Regions from separate parts of the Homo sapiens genome. Here region 1 is linked to region 2. Evidence: promoter capture Hi-C in human tissues and cell types (Jung and others, 2019). All regions are on one chromosome and are shown on one strand. Each heading gives the region's core, a stretch centred on a gene start or on the middle of the fragment in contact. The rest is flanking DNA. Distances are from core to core; before and after follow the strand shown. Region 1 has its middle 22 kb from the start of APOBEC1. Region 2 holds the start of NECAP1 (NECAP endocytosis associated 1).

What was found. Contacts are between HindIII fragments. The study calls those that stand out against the background at their distance.
Region 1: a contact is called between a fragment that was not itself captured here and the fragment with the promoter of NECAP1 in region 2, in 4 of the 25 tissues and cell types used here (H1 embryonic stem cells, hippocampus, mesendoderm cells and 1 more).

What each region holds. Positions count from the first base shown.
Region 1 is chr12:7,641,755-7,646,070 of GRCh38, reverse strand. No RefSeq gene overlaps it. Among named protein-coding and RNA genes, the nearest start is that of APOBEC1, 22 kb to the left of the region's middle. The HindIII fragment of the contact is 4,378 bases long and covers 538-4,316 here.
Region 2 is chr12:8,080,934-8,085,403 of GRCh38, reverse strand. It overlaps NECAP1 (NECAP endocytosis associated 1), which reads right to left and starts at 3,130. Exons shown (of 8, transcript NM_015509.4): 1 at 3,021-3,130. The coding sequence starts at 3,115. RefSeq lists enhancers at 2,888-2,947, 3,018-3,237, 2,669-3,868. The HindIII fragment of the contact is 7,640 bases long and covers 1,779-4,470 here.

The DNA of each region.
Region 1 (4,316 bases), core at 1,477-3,976, 440 kb after region 2:
CTGGTTTTTCAAGCTGCCTGTTAGAAAAGAAATGGTTTGGGGGTTGCTTCTCATGACAGGAAAATTTCCACTGAGAACTTTTACCCTTTCTAGTGGCCTAAAAATTATTTCCTAATAACTCCTGTATTATTCCCTGCCTCAAGAGAAGTAAACCTAACTGCTGTTAAGGGGTGTTGGATGACAATTCTTTCTGGCTACTTCCTGTTGAAAAGGCTCGTCACGTGAGGGACAGCAGTTGGTCCTCCTCCTGAGGTTGATCTAAGTGTTCTAGGAAGAATGGTGTGTCCATGGGTGGCTCTGCTCGCAGCGTTGTTTGGAGTTTGATTGCTTCTAGGTGAAAAGAGATAAATTTTACAAGAAGATTTAAAATATAGGGTTAGAGTATGAGTATTAAGATGACCACCATTAGAGGGAATTCTGTAGACCATAACTGAGTTTGAAATCTGTTAGTTACACCAAAGGGTTGCAATACCGGTTTTCGTCCACTAGATGCCGTTGTACATTACCAGAGACTTTATATAAAAGTAACATTTTCCTTGAGAAAAGCATACATTTTCCTTGAGAAAAGCATACATTTTCCCCTTGACTTCCCATTAGAGAATAATTTTTGGCATAGGCCATTTTTGTGAGTTGCAATATGATTGGGAGAAATATGATATTGGGTGGCTAAAATAACTTTAGCATTAATCTTGGCAATTCCTTTCCTTTAATTAGTAAATTCTTTTGTGACTTTCACAGACCCTCTTACAACATACTCAAACTCTCTGACTTGTCCTAAACATCCTTCCTGTAAACAACCAGTCATTTCCTTTTAGGACAAGAATTTACCATACACAATCCTTCCTTATATAAAATCTTTCTTTATAAACTTCTTTTAATAGTTTAGAATGCATCCTATTACCAACTTTCAGTAAAAAGTCATATCAAACTTAATGATAGTAAAACTTTTATACTTTCATGCTTGCTTTTTTTCTTTTTTTGATATGGAGTTTCGCTCTTGTTGTCCAAGCTGGAGCGCAATGGCACGATCTCAGCTCACCACAACCTCCTCCTCCCAGGTTCAAGCAATTCTCCTGCCTCAGCCTCCCGAGTAGCTGGGATTACAGGCATGCGCCACCACACCTGTCTAATTTTGTATTTTTTAGTAGAGATGGGGTTTCTTCATGTTGGTCAGGCTGGTCTCGAACTCCCGACCTCAGGTGATCCACCTGCCTCGGCCTCCCAAAGTGCTGAGATTACAGGCATGAGCCATCGCGCCCGGCCTTATGCTTGCTTCTTATCCATAACTATCACTCCTGCTATAAGCAAAATAACCTTGACTAAATCTTTCCTGCAATTATTAATCCTAAGATAAGGAAGATAATCAGGCAAAATATTATAACAATTAGAATTTTACAACCAAAATTCCGCATTGTGGGTGCCACGGTGTATAGTTCCATCGCAAATAGTGGTGTAACTATAACATTTCCCACAAGAGTGGCATAGTAAATAATTTTCGTTTAAGTCTTTACTTGCCTAGATATAACATTTCCCTTTGGGGATCTACAAAGTTACAAATGCAATCCCATGTATAATTAAATCTCGCTGCAAATATGCCTTAAAAGGAATTTTAATATTTGGTGGCAGATTTTGAGAGGAAAGGCAGAAATAATAAAAAGTACCCGATGAGGTAGGAGTAGCCCTCACTCAGTTACTTATCTTTTATGATTTTCAGTTTAAGATCTTCTATTTCTCCACATTGATATTCAGGACGTGCCTCTGGGCTGTCAGAGGTTGATCCCTCAGCTGTTCAGGCTTTGACTTGAATGTGGAAGTCAGGAGTTGATTCCTGTAACTTTTACTGCCAATGGTGTTGAAAGAAGAACAGTGTAGGGCCTTTCCCAGCTTGGCTTAGGGAAGGAGACAGAGATGAGGGTTTTCACTAACACCAAATTTCCTGGGTTAAATAAAGGTGGTTCTGTTTCCTGGGGTTGGACTTCTGTTAGTTGCGTTAATTCTTGTTGGAAGTGAGCTAGAGAGGTTACATGCTTAACCAATTTAGAGGTTTCCTGCCTGAAAACAATCTCTGAGCACACTGATAAGTTTTATCCTTTCCCAAGTGAAAAGCTTGGTGAAGGATTTTAAGGACATTGGCTGGAGGCTGGCAAATGGAGTTTGCCATCCTCTGACTGTAGCCTTTCTGAGGGCTGGGAACTACGTCCTCGAGAAGTGGCCTATTTTATTTCTGCAGGGAAATACTGAGGTTTAATTTTTCTTATGGAGCCTTCCTAGATTAGAAGGGGCTTAAGTGCCTTAACGGCTTGAGGCTTCCTTGCCTCTGACTTAACTGCCTGATCAGCTAACCTATTTCCTTTGGCTACCTCATTTGTTCCCTTTTGATGTTCCTTACAATGCATTCCTGCTATTTCTTGTGGAAGAAAAACTGAAGATAACCTGCTAATTTCCTGGTGATATTTTTATAGGGGATCTATTAATGGTAAGAAAATGTCTTTTCTTTCTTTCTTTCTTTTTGAGACGAAGTCTCGCTCCGTCGCCCAGGCTGGACTGCAGTGGCGCGATCTCGGCTCACTGCAACCTCCACCTCCCAGGTTCACGCCATTCTCGTGTCTCAGCCTCCCAGGTAGGTGGGACTACAGGCGCCTGCCACCACGCCTGGCTAATTTTTTGTATTTTTAGTAGAGACGGGGTTTCACCATGTTAGCCAGGATGGTCTTGATCCCCTGACCTCGTGATCCGCCCGTCTGGCCTCCCAAAGTGTTGGGATTACAGGCGTGAGCCACCGCCTGGCCGAAAATGTCTTTTCTTTCAAATGGCAGCATGAGCATGGAGAACCAAGAAAGCATACTTGGAGTTAGTATAAATGTTAGCTACCTTTCCCTTGCTTAATCCAAGTGTGCTTGTAAAAGCTGTTAGCTCAGCTAATTGAGCGCTTGTGCCTGGGGAGAGACGTTATTTAGAGTGACTACTGCTTATCCTGCCTTATGTACTTCTTGCTTTACTGGCGGTTTGTTGGCTAAGAGCTCCCCCTAGAGGACAGTAATCCTGCCACATTATGTGGGGTGTAAACAGTTAAATTATTTCCTAGGGTTAACTTGGAGGCTTTTCTGATTAGCGAGCTGTCATGATAATGGCTTGGAAGCACGTGTCAACTAAGGTTGAGAAAAATACTGGAGTAGAGTTTTTCCTGAGATGCCCCTTCTGGTTGTGCTATGGGAAGAGGGGAGGCCTGGATTAGAGAGGAGAAAAAAGAGAGACTGGCTGAGTGTTTAGAAAGAGGTCTACTTTCCTTCTTTTAATTTCCAGAATCACTCAGAGCTCCTGTGCTGTAATGGCAGTTTGAGCCGCTGGAGCTGGAGTTTGAGCCCCGGGATCCAGTTCTGCTGGATCATCAGTAAGACTGGTTCTGAACCCAGTGACCTCCACCTCTGGGGGCAGTTCCATCTCCTGTTGTCTCTGCCACAGGCTGGAGAGGGTTGAGGTGGCTTTGTCTTGCTGTATGGGCATTCTTTCTTAACATGCTCTGGCCTGCCACACTGATAGCAACTAGCAGATGCACCTCCGGGATCCTGGACTTTGCAAGCCTGCAAAGCTGCTGCTAGAGTCTCTGTCCTTCTGACCATTGTCTCTTTCTTTTGGGCCTCCTCCTGGTTCCTATTACAAAAGACCAAAGTGGCCACTTTCAGGAAGTTCTCTAAGGTGCTATCTGGTCCTATAGCTTGCTTGTGTAGTTTCCTTTTAATATTGGCAGCTGCCTGTCTAATAAACTTGTCCTTTAGGATGAGCTGTCCCTCGACTGAATCAGGGGATAAGGAGGGGTGTTCTGTTAGTGCCTCTCTCAGCCTTTCCATAAAGGCTACAAGATTCTCATCTGGCTGTTTATCATGGACAGTTTAGAGTAATTGAGAGGTTTGGCCCTGGTTTTCCGTAGGCCCTCTAATGCACACTTAAAAAAGAGCTTCCTTTTCATCTCCTGAGTTATTGGGGTCCCAATTAGGGTTGTCAAGGGAAACTGCTTTCCTCCCAATTGGGAATGGCATTTCTGCTATTTCTTCTCTTTCCTTATCTGCTTTCTTCCCTTTTGGTGTATTATAGGAGATATGTTGCTAATCTCTGAAATCAGAGCTGCCTGCTTTTCAGCTGCAGTGAGGGTCTGACTTAGGAGCAACATAACATCCTTCCATCTGAGGTGAAATACCTGAGTTAAATTTTGGAAAGCTTTTTTTTTGAGACGGAGTCTCACTCTATTGCTAGGCTGGAGTTCAGTGCCGTGATCTTGGCTCACTGCAACCTCCACATCCTGGGTGCAAGCGATTCTC
Region 2 (4,470 bases), core at 1,881-4,380:
GATGTAAGTATAAAGGTTGTGGAAAACTAAGAAGTGAAGATAGAGAAGATGGGTGAGAGGGGAGGTGTTTTAAAAAGCTTGAAGTAGGCCGGGTGCGGTGGCTCACGCCTGTAATCCCAGCACTTTGGGAGGCCAAGGCAGGCGGATCACGAGGTCAAGAGTTTGAGACCAGCCTGGCCAACACAGTGAAACCCCGTCTCTACTAAATATACAAAAATTAGCTGGGCATAGTGGCACGTGCCTGTAGTCCCAGCTACTTGGGAGGCTGAGGCAGGAAAATCACTTGAACCGGGGAGGCGGAGGTTGTGGCGAGCTGAGATTGCGCCAGCGCACTCCAGCCTGGGCAACACAGCCAGACTCCATCTCAAAAAAAAAAAAACTTCAAGAAAAAGAATATAATCCCACTTCAATATGTATCATATCCTTTAGGAGTCTTAACTCCTAAAGTTGGAAGTAATGAGCTATTTGACCTTATTTAACAGTTCAATCAATGCCACTTTATGTGATTAGGTTTCTCTGTGTAATCTACTGATTTCTTCTTTCAGTCAACATTTACAGGGTGCCCAAAGTGTACCAGATACTGTGCTAGACCCTGGGAATATAAAGTTAAAAAGATCTCAAGTTGTTCACAGTCTAGCCTGGAGAAAAAAGGAGACTAAACAATCCATTGTACAATCCACTGTAATCCATTACAATACAAAATGAAGAGCCCTGGAATAGAGATAAGAATAAAGTGCTATGCAGGAACAGAAAACCAAACACCACATGTTCTCACTCACAAGTGGGAGTTGAACAGTGAGAACGCATGGGCACAGGGAGGGGAACAACACACACTGGGGCCTCTCGGGGGAGGGGCGAGGATGACAGGTTGATAGGTGCAGCAAACCACCATGGCACATGCATACCTATGTAACAAACCTGCACATTCTGCACATGTATCCCAGAACTTAAAGTAAAAAAGAAAAAGAAAAAGGTGCTATGGAAGCACACAGGGTGCATATCTAAACCAGAATGGAAGGGTCACATAGGGCCTCCCAAAGAAGGTGATGTTTAAGTGACTCATATAGTACCTGTAACTACCATCTAAAAGCATGTTGATTTCTACTTAGGGTCAGTTTGGGGTCCAACTAAAAGCTTATTAAAAACAGAACTGCTACCTCTTTGCCAAAGGTGCAACCCACAGGGCCCAGCGCACAGGTCAGCAAGCATAAAAATATTGATTCATGATGAATAAAACGCCAGTAAGGGGCAAAATAACAGACATAAGGAGAGGGTAACTTTTCAGCCAAGGTAATGATAAATGCCAGGAGGAAAAATCACAATGATGATGTGGGTCAGAGAGAAGAATAAGAACAGTATCTTGGCCAGGTGCAGTGGCCCACACCTGTAATTTCAACACTTTGGGAGGCTGTGGCAGGAGAATCACTTAAGGCCAGGAGTTCGAGACCAGCCTGGGAAATATATCAAGATCCTGTCTACACAAAAAAATTTAAAAATTAGCCAGGCATTGTGAGGCAATGCCTGTAGCCCTAGCAACTTGGGAGGCTGAGGTAGGAGGATCCCTTGTGCCCAGGAGTACACAGCTGCCGTGAGCTGTGATTGCACCACTTGCACTCCAGCCTGGATGATAGAACGAGACCCTGCCTCTCTAACAAAAAAAAAAAAAAAAAAAAACGACGGCTGGGCGTGGTGTCACGCCTGTAATCCCAGTACTATGGGAGGCCAAGGTGGGCAGATCACAAGGTCAGGAGTTCAAGACCAGCCTGGCCAACTTGGTGAAACCCCATCTCTACTCAAAATACAAAAATTAGCCAGGTGTGGTGGTGCATGCGTGTAATCCCAACTATTCAGGAAGCTGAAGCAGGAGAATCGCTTGAACCCAGGAGGCGGAGGTTGCAGTGAGCTGAGATTGAGCCATTGCGCTCCGGCCTGGGCAACAAAGTGAGACTACATCTCAAAAAAAAAAAAAAAAAAAAAAAAAAGAACAAACAAATAGTATTTGTAACTGCTTTATTGCATTTCCTACATTCTTTCACATCCATTATATGATTTAATTTTACTCTCCCAAAAACCCTTGTTAAGCACATTATAAGAGCGCAGGTATCATCACTAACAGGTTTTTTTTTCTATTTTACAGATGAGAAAATTGAGGCTTGGAAAGGGCTCACACTCATATGGTTTAACATGAAGCCCAGTGAACTGTCTTTCAACTACATAATGTCCTATAGCATCCTCAGAACCTCACAGTCATTGGATTACAAGGTAGGTAGTTAGGCCCAACAGAGAAAAATGCTGCCTCAACTTTGGAGGGAAAAGGTGTAGGAGAGGTTAAGAAGGGAGGTAGGGAAGGAAGACAGAAAATACTATATAATCATCAAGAAAATACAATGAGAAGAAACAGAATGAACAACCGTTGTAAAGCTTATGATCATAACCTTTGCTCACTGGTAAAACTGCTGAAGGAAAAACCGAATGGTGGATGATGACAGTTGGTGACGAAATTGACAACAGTACAAAAAATAAATCAGATAATCCAGAGTGGCAAGCAACACGATTACCCATAAATGTGCATGGGGAACTGGAAAGGTGTGTGTGTGTGTGTGTGTGTGTGTGTGTGTGTGTGTGTGTGAGAGAGAGAGAGAGAGAAAGGATGAGGATGATAAGCTGAAGGACGCAGGGAAGAGCGAATGAAAGGGGACTGGCAATGGAGCAAGCACGACTGAAAGTGCATGATGGGGAGCAGATGGGTGCCCCAGGGGATTACGGGAGAGGCAGAGTGGAATAACGCAGAGTGGTAATTTAATAAAAAACAAAACAAAAAAAAAAACGGCAGAAATATGGTGATGACAGTCCAGAGTGGAGATGGAGCAGGTGGTCAGGGAGATGACAACCCAGGTAGGGAGGCTAGCAAGGTGACAATACAGAGGTAGTAGTGGCAGGGACGGACAGCGTGCTAGCTGAGAAGGAAGCTGTCATCTGCGACAGAGTACGCGTGTGCGGCAGCGCCTCGGGGTTAGTACCTGTAACCGCGGTTGGAGGCCCGGGGCGGAATCCGGTAGACGCTGACGTCTGGCTTCACACACAGCACAGACTCGTACTCCAACTCGGTCGCCATCTTGGGTCCGCTGTCGGCGCTGCCGGGGGCGAAACGTAAGACCGGAGGCGGAGCACGGGAGGCGGAGATGCAAAGCGCGACAACTTCTGTTGCGTCACTTCCGCGCGAGTTCAAGTTAGTTTCTGAGATTAACCTTTTCGGTGACGCGGGGAGCCATATTGAAACCTGGAAACGATGAGGCTGCACGGCTCACCGTCTTGGATAATGGCAAAGATGGCCTGCAAGTGCGTGACTCTCGTTATGGAAATCTCTGTCCTGGAGAGGTGCTTACGAAAAGCGCCATCTTACTCTAGGCAGGTGCCTGGAGTGTCCTACGAGGACGAGGACCATATTGAATCGTGACGGATTTTCTTACAGGAGTCACTTCCTAACTGTAGTCTCCTGGCAGAAAAGAGGCAACCTCCAGCCGGTAGTCCCAGACGAGGTACCTGCAGAGAATGATGTATGATCTGGTCATAGACACCGTGGATTTCAACTCTCCAGAGTCTAAACGCTGAAAACACCCAACTTGATTTAGTGCCTTACACTCTTTATCTCCGATTTTTCAGGACGACACCTGTTAAAATGTTTTGCCACACTTTCGGCGTGTATTCCGATTATCTTTTTGGAAAATTTGATCCTGTTAAATAGACTATACGTGGGATCAACCCAATTCCTGATAAAATCGGAAGCATAATGAACTATCTAATGGCCTATATTAGCTCCCAGTTCTATTATAATGATAAATGCTACCGAACTCTCACCATAAATATGCTTTTTCTGCGCCCCAAAGGTAAACTTAACCACAACACCCTGACAGTACAGATAGCAAGTGGCAAAACTGAGACAGAAACTCAAGCCTGCCTCATTACAACAGCAGCAGTCTTCACCGCTGCTGGAGCTGGCAAGGTCACCAAGTCTGCCCAGAAAGCTCAGAAGGCTAGATGAATATCATCCCTAATACCTGCCACCCCACTCTTAATCAGTGGTGGAAGAACGGTCTCAGAACTGTTTGTTTCAACTGGCCATTTAAGTTCAGTAGTAAAAGACTGGTTAATGAAAACAATGCATCGTAAAACCTTCAGAAGGAAAGGAGAATGTTTTGTGGACCACTGGTTTTCTTCTTCAGAAGGAAAGGAGAATGTTTTGTGGACCACTGGTTTTCTTTTTTGCGTGTGGCAGTTTTAAGTTATTAGTTTTTTAAATCAGTACTTTTTAATGGAAACATCCAAAAATTTGTCACAGAATTTTGAGACCCATTAAAAAAGTTTAATGAGAAAAAAAAAAAAAGCAAACCTGCCTCTAATTTGTCTGCTCCACCTTGGAAAGTGATATCTTAAATTTCAAAAAGAATTACCACATTTATCCCTGGCGAG